3 separate regions of the Homo sapiens genome follow, and all the other regions are linked to region 2. Evidence: promoter capture Hi-C in 16 types of primary human blood cells and fetal thymus (Javierre and others, 2016). All regions are on one chromosome and are shown on one strand. Each heading gives the region's core, a stretch centred on a gene start or on the middle of the fragment in contact. The rest is flanking DNA. Distances are from core to core; before and after follow the strand shown.

Evidence for each region. The method cuts DNA at HindIII sites, captures the fragments that hold promoters and counts their contacts. A CHiCAGO score of 5 or more calls a contact.
Region 1: a contact is called between a fragment that was not itself captured here and the fragment with the promoter of OARD1 in region 2, in 1 of 17 cell types (non-activated CD4 T cells). The highest score is 7.6, in non-activated CD4 T cells.
Region 3: a fragment that was not itself captured here is called in contact with the fragment with the promoter of OARD1 in region 2 in 1 of 17 cell types (neutrophils); the score reaches 5.1 in neutrophils.

The regions. Positions count from the first base shown.
Region 1 is chr6:38,641,702-38,644,447 of GRCh38, reverse strand. All of the region lies in intron 1 of LOC105375044 (a long non-coding RNA gene), which reads right to left. Among named protein-coding and RNA genes, the nearest start is that of BTBD9, 3.1 kb to the right of the region's middle. The HindIII fragment of the contact is 4,394 bases long and covers 1-2,746 here.
Region 2 is chr6:41,071,070-41,073,769 of GRCh38, reverse strand. OARD1 (O-acyl-ADP-ribose deacylase 1) reads left to right here and starts at 1,414. Exons shown (of 6, transcript NM_001329686.2): 1 at 1,414-1,534; 2 at 2,095-2,174; 3 at 2,494-2,638. The coding sequence starts at 2,136. NFYA (nuclear transcription factor Y subunit alpha) reads right to left here and starts at 796. Exons shown (of 10, transcript NM_002505.5): 1 at 686-796. RefSeq lists silencers at 1-65, 96-725 and enhancers at 1,106-1,155, 1,186-1,395. The HindIII fragment of the contact is 4,776 bases long and covers 1-2,700 here.
Region 3 is chr6:43,571,705-43,574,473 of GRCh38, reverse strand. XPO5 (exportin 5) reads left to right here. Exons shown (of 32, transcript NM_020750.3): 2 at 873-994; 3 at 1,896-1,968. Among named protein-coding and RNA genes, the nearest start is that of XPO5, 2.9 kb to the left of the region's middle. The HindIII fragment of the contact is 3,844 bases long and covers 1-2,769 here.

The sequences.
Region 1 (2,746 bases), core at 29-2,528, 2.4 Mb after region 2:
GACAAGCAAATGTATTAAAGCATGGCATTAGTGACAAAAAATATTTCCTCTTGAATCTACTGGAAAAATATAAATTATTCTTGCATTTAACTTTTATTTGTGTCCATTTTAACAACTAACCAATTTTAGTTTAGAAACAGTTATATATAAATATTCATTTAGATCACAACAAAACTACCTAGAAGGAATGTTAGGTGACAACGCTGGTTTAGCACAATTCTCCTGTTCTTTTTTTACCTCCATGGAAATGCCTTAATATATTTGTGTCCATTTTTGAGGCATACTGTGTTTACTTAACAGTGTAGGTAAGTACAACACTCTTGACTTCCATTAGATAGAGCTAACTGCGCCCTTATCTGTATCACTTTATATATCCCTCATTTCACTTCATACAGATTCTGTTATAGTATATTGTATTATACTTACAATATATTTATATCTAGCTTTTAGGGTCTTGCTCTGTTGCCCAGGCTGAAGTGCACTGGCACAGTCATAGCTCACTGTAATCTGGTAATAGCTCACTGTAACCTCAAACTCCTGGGCTCACCCAATCCTCTTGCCTCAGCCTCCCAAGTAGTTAGAACTGCAGGTGCGCACCACCACACCTGGCTAATTTTTAGAAAATTTTTGTAGAGATGGGTGTCTGGCTATATTGCCCAGGCTGGTCTCAAACTCCTGGCCTCAGGTGATCTTCCCATTTTGGCCTTCCAAAGCACTGGGATTACGGGGCATGAGCCACCACAATCAGGTCTATCTTATTATTTTTTATTTTTATTTATTTACTTATTTTAATTTTTTTTTTGAGACAGAGTTTTGCTCTTGTTGCCCAGGCTGGAGTCCAATGGCGAGATCTTGGCTCTACACAACCTCTGCCTCCCGGATTCAAGTGATTCTCCTGTCTCAGCCTCCTGAGTAGCTGGGATGATGGCATATGCCACCATGCCCGGCTAATTTTTGTATTTTCAGTAGAGACGGGTTTTCATCATATTGGTCAGGCTGATCTCAAACTCTTGACCTCAGGTGATCTACCCGCCTCGGCCTCCCAAAGTGCTAGGATTACAGGCATAAGCCACCGCGCCTGGCCTTACTTTTTTTTCTTTTTTTTTTTTTAAAGAACTATGACAGCTAGTTACATACTTAGTATTTCTCTCTCTCTCTCCAAATTGTGAGTTCCTTGAAAACTGTGTTATAGCCATAGTATCTAGGACAGAAGCTGGCATGAAATATACTGATTCTTAGTGGTTGGAAAATGGTCTGAGAAGGATTTGAAGTGTGCTGTTATAAGCAAGTGAGTCTGATATGAAATTGGGGTGATTGAGCCCGGGGGTTGAGGCTGCAGTGAGCCAAGATTGTACCACTGCACTCCACACTGGGCAACAGAGCAAGATGCTGTCTCAAAAATAAAAAATAAAAATAAATAAAAGTATTGAATCAGATATGACAAAAAATAAAAAAATAAAACTGGGGGGATTATCTAGGAATTAATGAGAAAATCATAGACTCAGCTTGATCTCATCCTTTGCCAGATGCGAAAACCAAAGCCTGGAGTAGTTGAGGGATTTGTTCAAAGTTATCTAGCTAGTTAATGGCCAGAATCAAGACTAGAATCTCAAAACTCCCATCAAACTAGTCTAGAGGCCAATCCACTATATTGATCTGCCTTTCAGATCTCAGTGATTTGGTATCTATCTCCACTATCCCACTGAAGTTTGCTATTGTTGGTTACCAATCACTTTTCTGTTGCTAAATCCAGTGAATGCTTTCCAGTTCTTGATATACTTGGCCTTTTTGTGGTCTCTGACTCTGTTGACCCCTCTCCATCTTGCTTGCTTGGCTTCAGAGGCATTAGGCTCACCTAGTTCTCCTTTTCTCTCTCTGGCCATTCTTCCTCAGACTTCTTTTTGGGCTTCTGATCATCTGCACCTCCTTTTAAAGTTAGTGCTCTCCAGGGGCCCTATCCTTGCCTCTCCTTATTATGTCTTCTGTATTTTCTCCCTGATTGATCTCATCCATGCCTCGGGCTTAAATTACCAATTATTAATTTATTTCTTCCAAATCTATTTTAACTCAACCTCTTTCCTCATTCATAGACCTGTACAGTTTGAGTGTTTATTGGACATTTTTCTCTAGATGTGGAGGTTCCATCAGGTCACAGTCATATTGCTATAGTCTCTGAGGGGACCTACTGAATTGTACCCTTCTTTTCCAGGTAATGGAGAAAGCTGCAGGAAACCAACTATTATCTTTATTACTGACTGTATCAGTTTCCTATTGCTGTTGTAACAAGTTAGCACAAACTTGGTACCTTAAAACATACAAGTTTCTTATCTCGCAGTTCTAGAAGTCAGAAGTCCTAAAATCAAGGTGTTGGCAGGGCTGTGTTCTTAGGGTGCTAGAGAAGAATCCATTTCCTTGCCTTCTCCCGCATCTACAATTTGCTTGCGTTTCTTGGGTCCATCTTCAAAGCCAACAGTATAGCATCTTCAAATCTCTGTCTGACCTCTGCTTCCATCATCACATCTCCTTCTCTGACTCTGACCCTCCTGCCTCCAGCCCAGTCAGACAATCCAGGATAATCTCCCTAGATACATCATTTAATCATATCTGCAAAGTCCCTTTTGCCACATAATATAACATATTCATGGGTTCTGAGTATTAGGGTGTGGTCATCCTTTTTTTTTTGGTTGGGGGGGATCATTATTCTGTGTAACACAGCTGACAAAGCTGGTATTAAATATTATCTGTG
Region 2 (2,700 bases), core at 165-2,664:
GAGTGGGCGAACTAACGGCCCCCTCTCCCCACCAGGGAGACAGCGGGGGCGGGCCCATAGGGCTCCGAGGCGTGGGCGGGCCAGCCCCGTTGCCAGCCGCACACGGGACCCCGCGGCCGCGGCGCGCACCCTCCCCAGGCCTCCCTCCCGACCTAGAGGGGCTGCAGATAAGACAGACCCGGCTCGCTGGGAGCGGGGAGCGGGGGGCGCGGGCCCCGGGGAGGCTTCCTGTCCCAAGGGCCGGAGAGTGGAGAGTGCAAGGGCAGGTTTAAGTTTGCGGCCAGAACGACCAGGAGGAAATCGCCGAGGCCCAGGGCGCGCATGTGTCCCCTAGTGTAGGGCCATTCGTGGCCCCAGGCCTGGGGCCTGAGAACCTGGGCCTGAGTCGGGGAACAGGGACGCATTCCCAACTGGCCCTGGCACCCTGCGAGGGTCGGAGCCCCGAGGTGCCTGCTCCCCGAGGCGCCATCCCCGCGCGGGGCGGCCCCTGCAGGCCTCGGCCGGGAGTGCCCCGAGGCGCTCGCAGGCCCCGGGCCGGGGCCGCTGGCCGCCCGGCTCGGCTAGGCTCAGCTCGACTCCCCGGGCTCGACGGGCGCCTGGGCCTCTCCTGAGTGGTCAGCGAGACCCGCCAATCGGGGCGCTGGGGCCGGCTCTGGGCCGCTGGATATTGGCTCCTCACACTCACCGTGCCTCGCTCCCCCGGTTCGCTGCCCGCGCTGATTGGCTCCAGTACCGGACTCCGAAACCCAATCAGAGGCTCCAGCCGCCGCTGCCGCCGCCACTGCCGCTGCCTAGCAAAATGGCGAACCCGAACAAAGGGGAATCGGGCCTCCCTCCAACCGCCTCCGCGCAGGCGCCTCTGAGGCCACGCCCACTAACTCCAGTTCAGGGATCGCCCCACCCCTTCGGAGGAGCAACGCGCAGGCGTTCCCTGAAGCCACGCCCACCTTCCCGCTTTGACACCACCCCCAGTGAAAGGAATACGCAGGCGCTTTCCAGACGCGCCAGACCCTTCAACTCAAAACGCTGCCTTGAGCTTAGTACTACGCAGGCGCTAACTAGCCCCTTTGCCAGCTGCCCACCCCTTTCCAAGTGGCCACTAGGACACACCCCTGCGGCTAATGCGCAAGCGCCACTTTTCCCGACTCGTGGGGCAGTTTCGTTACGCATGCGCGGGCGGCGGCGGGAAACCACGGAATTTACTGCCGGAAGTTCGGCGGCCTTCGCCAAAGAGTGTGGGCTCGGCTAGCAAGCTAGAGGGGCTCGTTTCCGCCCCGCTACCGGGCGGGGGCGGCCATCTTAGATGCGTGCAATTAAGGGCTTTGGCGGGATTGGCTCCGCGTTTGGGCTGGTCCGCTGCTCCCCACCTACCAGGGTCGGATCCGGAGCCCTTCCCCGCGGGGCGGGGACCTCCAAACAACCGACTCCTTTCCAGGTGAAGGGTGACTTGGGTACGTTGGGGCTTTGAGCGAGCCTCCCCGCACCCTCCCATAGGACCCCAGGACAGACTGCGTCCTCGCTGACCCGCCCTAGGGTAGGAGACAGAGAATGGGAGGCTTCAATAGACTCTTTCCTTCTCCCACGCACCCCCCAAAAAAGTGGGGGGTGAACGTTCCTTGAGAGGCCGCCTTCCTTTCCCCACGCCTGGGGCTCAGCACGCCAGTACCCTGTACACTCTGTGGTTGCGGCTTAACGGGACTGTGGCCAAGTCCCTTCTGTTTTCTTCTAAGCCAGACCCACTGGGGAAATACTTTTGCGTCGTGCAGAGAAAAGGAGACCGTCCTAAATCGGCCTTGCTCCGGAGTGGCCCTGGAGAAAGGAGGAGGCGTGTCTTAGGGATGGGCTTTGCTTCCGCTGACGGAGCGGGGCGCTCCAGGAAAGCACGAAATGAGAGCGGGTCGAGACAGCCTCCGAACCTAAGCGTTCTTCCTCTTTGCCCCAGAAGGGTTTTGTATTACGTCCCAGGGGCCGAACAAACTCACATTCATCGATAAACGTTGGGGAAAAAAGCCTATTAAGTGGTTGTACAGGGCAATCAGAATATTATATACTAAGGCTGCCTAAGCATTTTTACTTCCTTTTCCCTTCTCATAGCTGAAGAAACACTTAAATTCTGGAAATAGCGACTCAGTATCATGGCCAGCAGCCTTAATGAAGATCCAGAAGGAAGCAGAGTGCGTAACAACTATTGACTTATTGGTGAACTGAAATTCGTAATAATGGAGGTCAAAAGCATAAACACTTTTTAATTAAATTAATGATTGCATTATCTTTTTTTCTCTCTAGCTGATTTACTTTAAAAAGGCTCAAAATTCTAGGCAGGGATCATCCATTACTTTCCTTTTACACATGCTGTAATTGGTTTGGCTTTAAATCAGATTGGAGGAAGGGGTGCCGGGAGAGGTAGTCGTGGGGGACACAAAATACAGAAAAATAGCTTAGTATTTTACTGTATCTAATAAAACATTGTCTTTTCCTTTGCACATTTTTTAGATCACTTATGTGAAAGGAGACCTTTTTGCATGCCCGAAAACAGACTCTTTAGCCCACTGTATCAGTGAGGATTGTCGCATGGGCGCTGGGATAGCTGTCCTCTTTAAGAAGAAATTTGGAGGGGTGCAAGAACTTTTAAATCAACGTGAGTTTTGGAAACCACTTACCTGGTTTGCCCTGGCTAGAGCACCTTTTAATCTGTTACAC
Region 3 (2,769 bases), core at 122-2,621, 2.5 Mb before region 2:
AGAGTGAACACCACTTGGAGGAAATGTTATATATGTGTAACTTTTATATATTTTATATTTTTATTTTTATATTAAATATATATTTTTAAAGCAACTGTGCTTGGAGATCCACATAATATTGATCTAGGTTTTGCAACTTTAAACATATAGCTTAGGTTGGAGTTTCTTTTTGAGTAGGGTCTCACTCTGGTTGTCCAGGCTGGCGTGCAGTGGTGAGATCTCGGCTCACTTCAGCCTTGATTTCTCGAGCTCAAGTGATTCTCCTACCACTTCAGCCTCCTGAGTAGCTGGGATTACAGGCACCTGCCACCATGCCCGGCTAATTTAAAAAAATATTTTTAGTGGGCCGGGCACAGTGGCTCACGCCTGTAATCCCAGCACTTTGGGAGGCCAAGGCAGGTGGGTCACCTGAGGTCAGGAGTTCAAGACCAGCCTGGTCAACATGATGAAACCTTGTTTCTACTAAAAATACAAAAATTAGCTGGGTGTGGTGGCGTGCACTTGTAGTCCCAGCTACATGGGCTCAGGAGGCTGAGGCAGGAGAACTGCTTGAACCTGGGAAGCAGAGGTTGCAGTGAGCCGAGATCATGCCATTGCATTCCAGCCTGGGCGACAGAGTGAGACTCCGTCTCAAAAAAAAAAAAAAAAAATATATATATATATATATATTTAATAGAGATGGGGTTTCGCCATGTTGCCTAGGCTAGTCTCAGACTCCTAGACTCAAGTAGTCCACCCATCTCAGCCTCCCAGAGTGCTGGGACAGGTGTGAGCCACCGCACCCGGCCCTGGTTGGAGTTTCTTAAGATGAAATTCTTTTAGTCCCTATTCTCTCAGCCCTCGAAAGGAAACACTAACTTTTCTTCTTTCAGTTTTGTGAGGAGTTTAAAGAAAAGTGTCCTATCTGTGTCCCCTGTGGCTTGAGGTTGGCTGAGAAAACACAAGTTGCCATCGTCAGACATTTTGGCCTTCAGATCCTGGAACACGTTGTCAAGTAAGGAGCTCTTGGACATTACCACTGAAGTCTGAGAGAACAGATCTTTATATCTTATATAACCTATAGAGATGCTGTTTAGGTGAGTAGAGAAGAGCAATCTCCAAGAAGAGAGGAATGATCCCCTAGATGTTATCAGAACCTCACAGGAGCTCTCATTCAAGATTTAACCTTTCTTTTCTTCAGTTTCTTCATCCATGTAAAGTGTGTGGTACATATTACCCATTCAACAAATATTACCTGCCATTTAGCCAATACTTACTGAGCTCTGACTATATGTCATTAGCCCTCGAAGCCTTTTTAGAGTAATGCAATGTATAGGTCAATGAATCTCTGATTAGGCACTGTGGCTTTCTTTTTTCTCTCTGTCTTTCTGAGTTTGTGTGCCTTCTCTGGGTGGTACATCCAAAGCAGGATTGTATGAGAATAACTGAAAACCCATCCTAACTTGATTGTCCTACCCTCAACACCTATCAGAAGAGGTAGCCTTTAAGACTTAGCCATAGTTTTTCCAGAATTGTTTTGTAAGCCAGCACAGAAAATGACTGATGTCAAAACTGCATTTTCTGAAAAGCAAGTACATTGTTGCAGTTGACCTAGATGTATATTCACTTTTGGCCCATCAATAAAATCATGAGGCAAAGCTGACGTGTGGTACAAATCTTGTGCGGATTCCAGTTAATGGACCACTGCATATATAAAACCTTTTCCCAAGAATTTTTGTGTTAGTATTTTGGTTAAATGTAGATCATTTTTGCCCATTCATTGACAGGTACAAAATCAAAAGTATAATTTCTTAATGAAATCTCCAGTGTAATCAAATGTAGAAATCCATGCTATTCTCTTGTAAAGACAAGACTTCTAAAGTGGTTCTATTGACTTTATGCATTTTGGTGGTCAGGTTTCGGTGGAACGGCATGTCTCGATTGGAGAAGGTGTATCTGAAGAACAGTGTCATGGAGCTGATTGCAAATGTAAGGAATGGGTGGTTGGGAGACATGTTTCCAAGGTAGTTTAGGCAAAGCGTGACTTCTTCAATAGGGAGTTTGTGTAAAAATTCACTGCTTCTAAATAGGTCAGACAGCACAAGAAATCATAATTTAGGCCAGGCACAGTGACTCACACCTGTAATTCTAGCGCTTTGGGAAGCCAAGGTAAGAGGATCACCTGCATCTAAGAATTCGAGAGCAGCTTGGGCAATGCAGTGAGACCCCATCTCTACCAAAAATGCAAAAATTAGCTGAGCGTGGTGGCGCATGCCTGTGGCCCAGCTACTCAGGAGGCTGAGGTGGGAGGATTTTCTGAGCCCAGGAGGTCCAGGCTGCAGTGAGCTGTGATGGTGCCATGGCACTCCAGCCTGTGCAACAGAGCAAGACCCTATCTCAAAAACAAAACAAAACAAAAGCAGAAAGCATAATTCAGCATATGTCTCTTACTAGGTTTAATTAATCATGCTTATGTATTGACTTCTATTTTTTAAATTATAAAGACAGGGCAGAGGGGATTAAATATTTTCAACAAATCAATAAGATTCTTAGATCTAAATTAGATTGAAACACTATTTTCTTTTATTCCAAACAACTACTATGTGATACTAATGATGAAAAACATGCAGAATTTTAAGTATGCAGAATGAATTTGTTTCAAGTATTAGAATATGACTTTTTTTTTTTTTTGAGACAGAGTCTCTGTTGCTCCGGCTGGATTGCATTAGCATGATCATAGCTCACTGCAGCCTCGAACTCCTGGGCTCAAGTGATCTTCTCGCCTTAGCC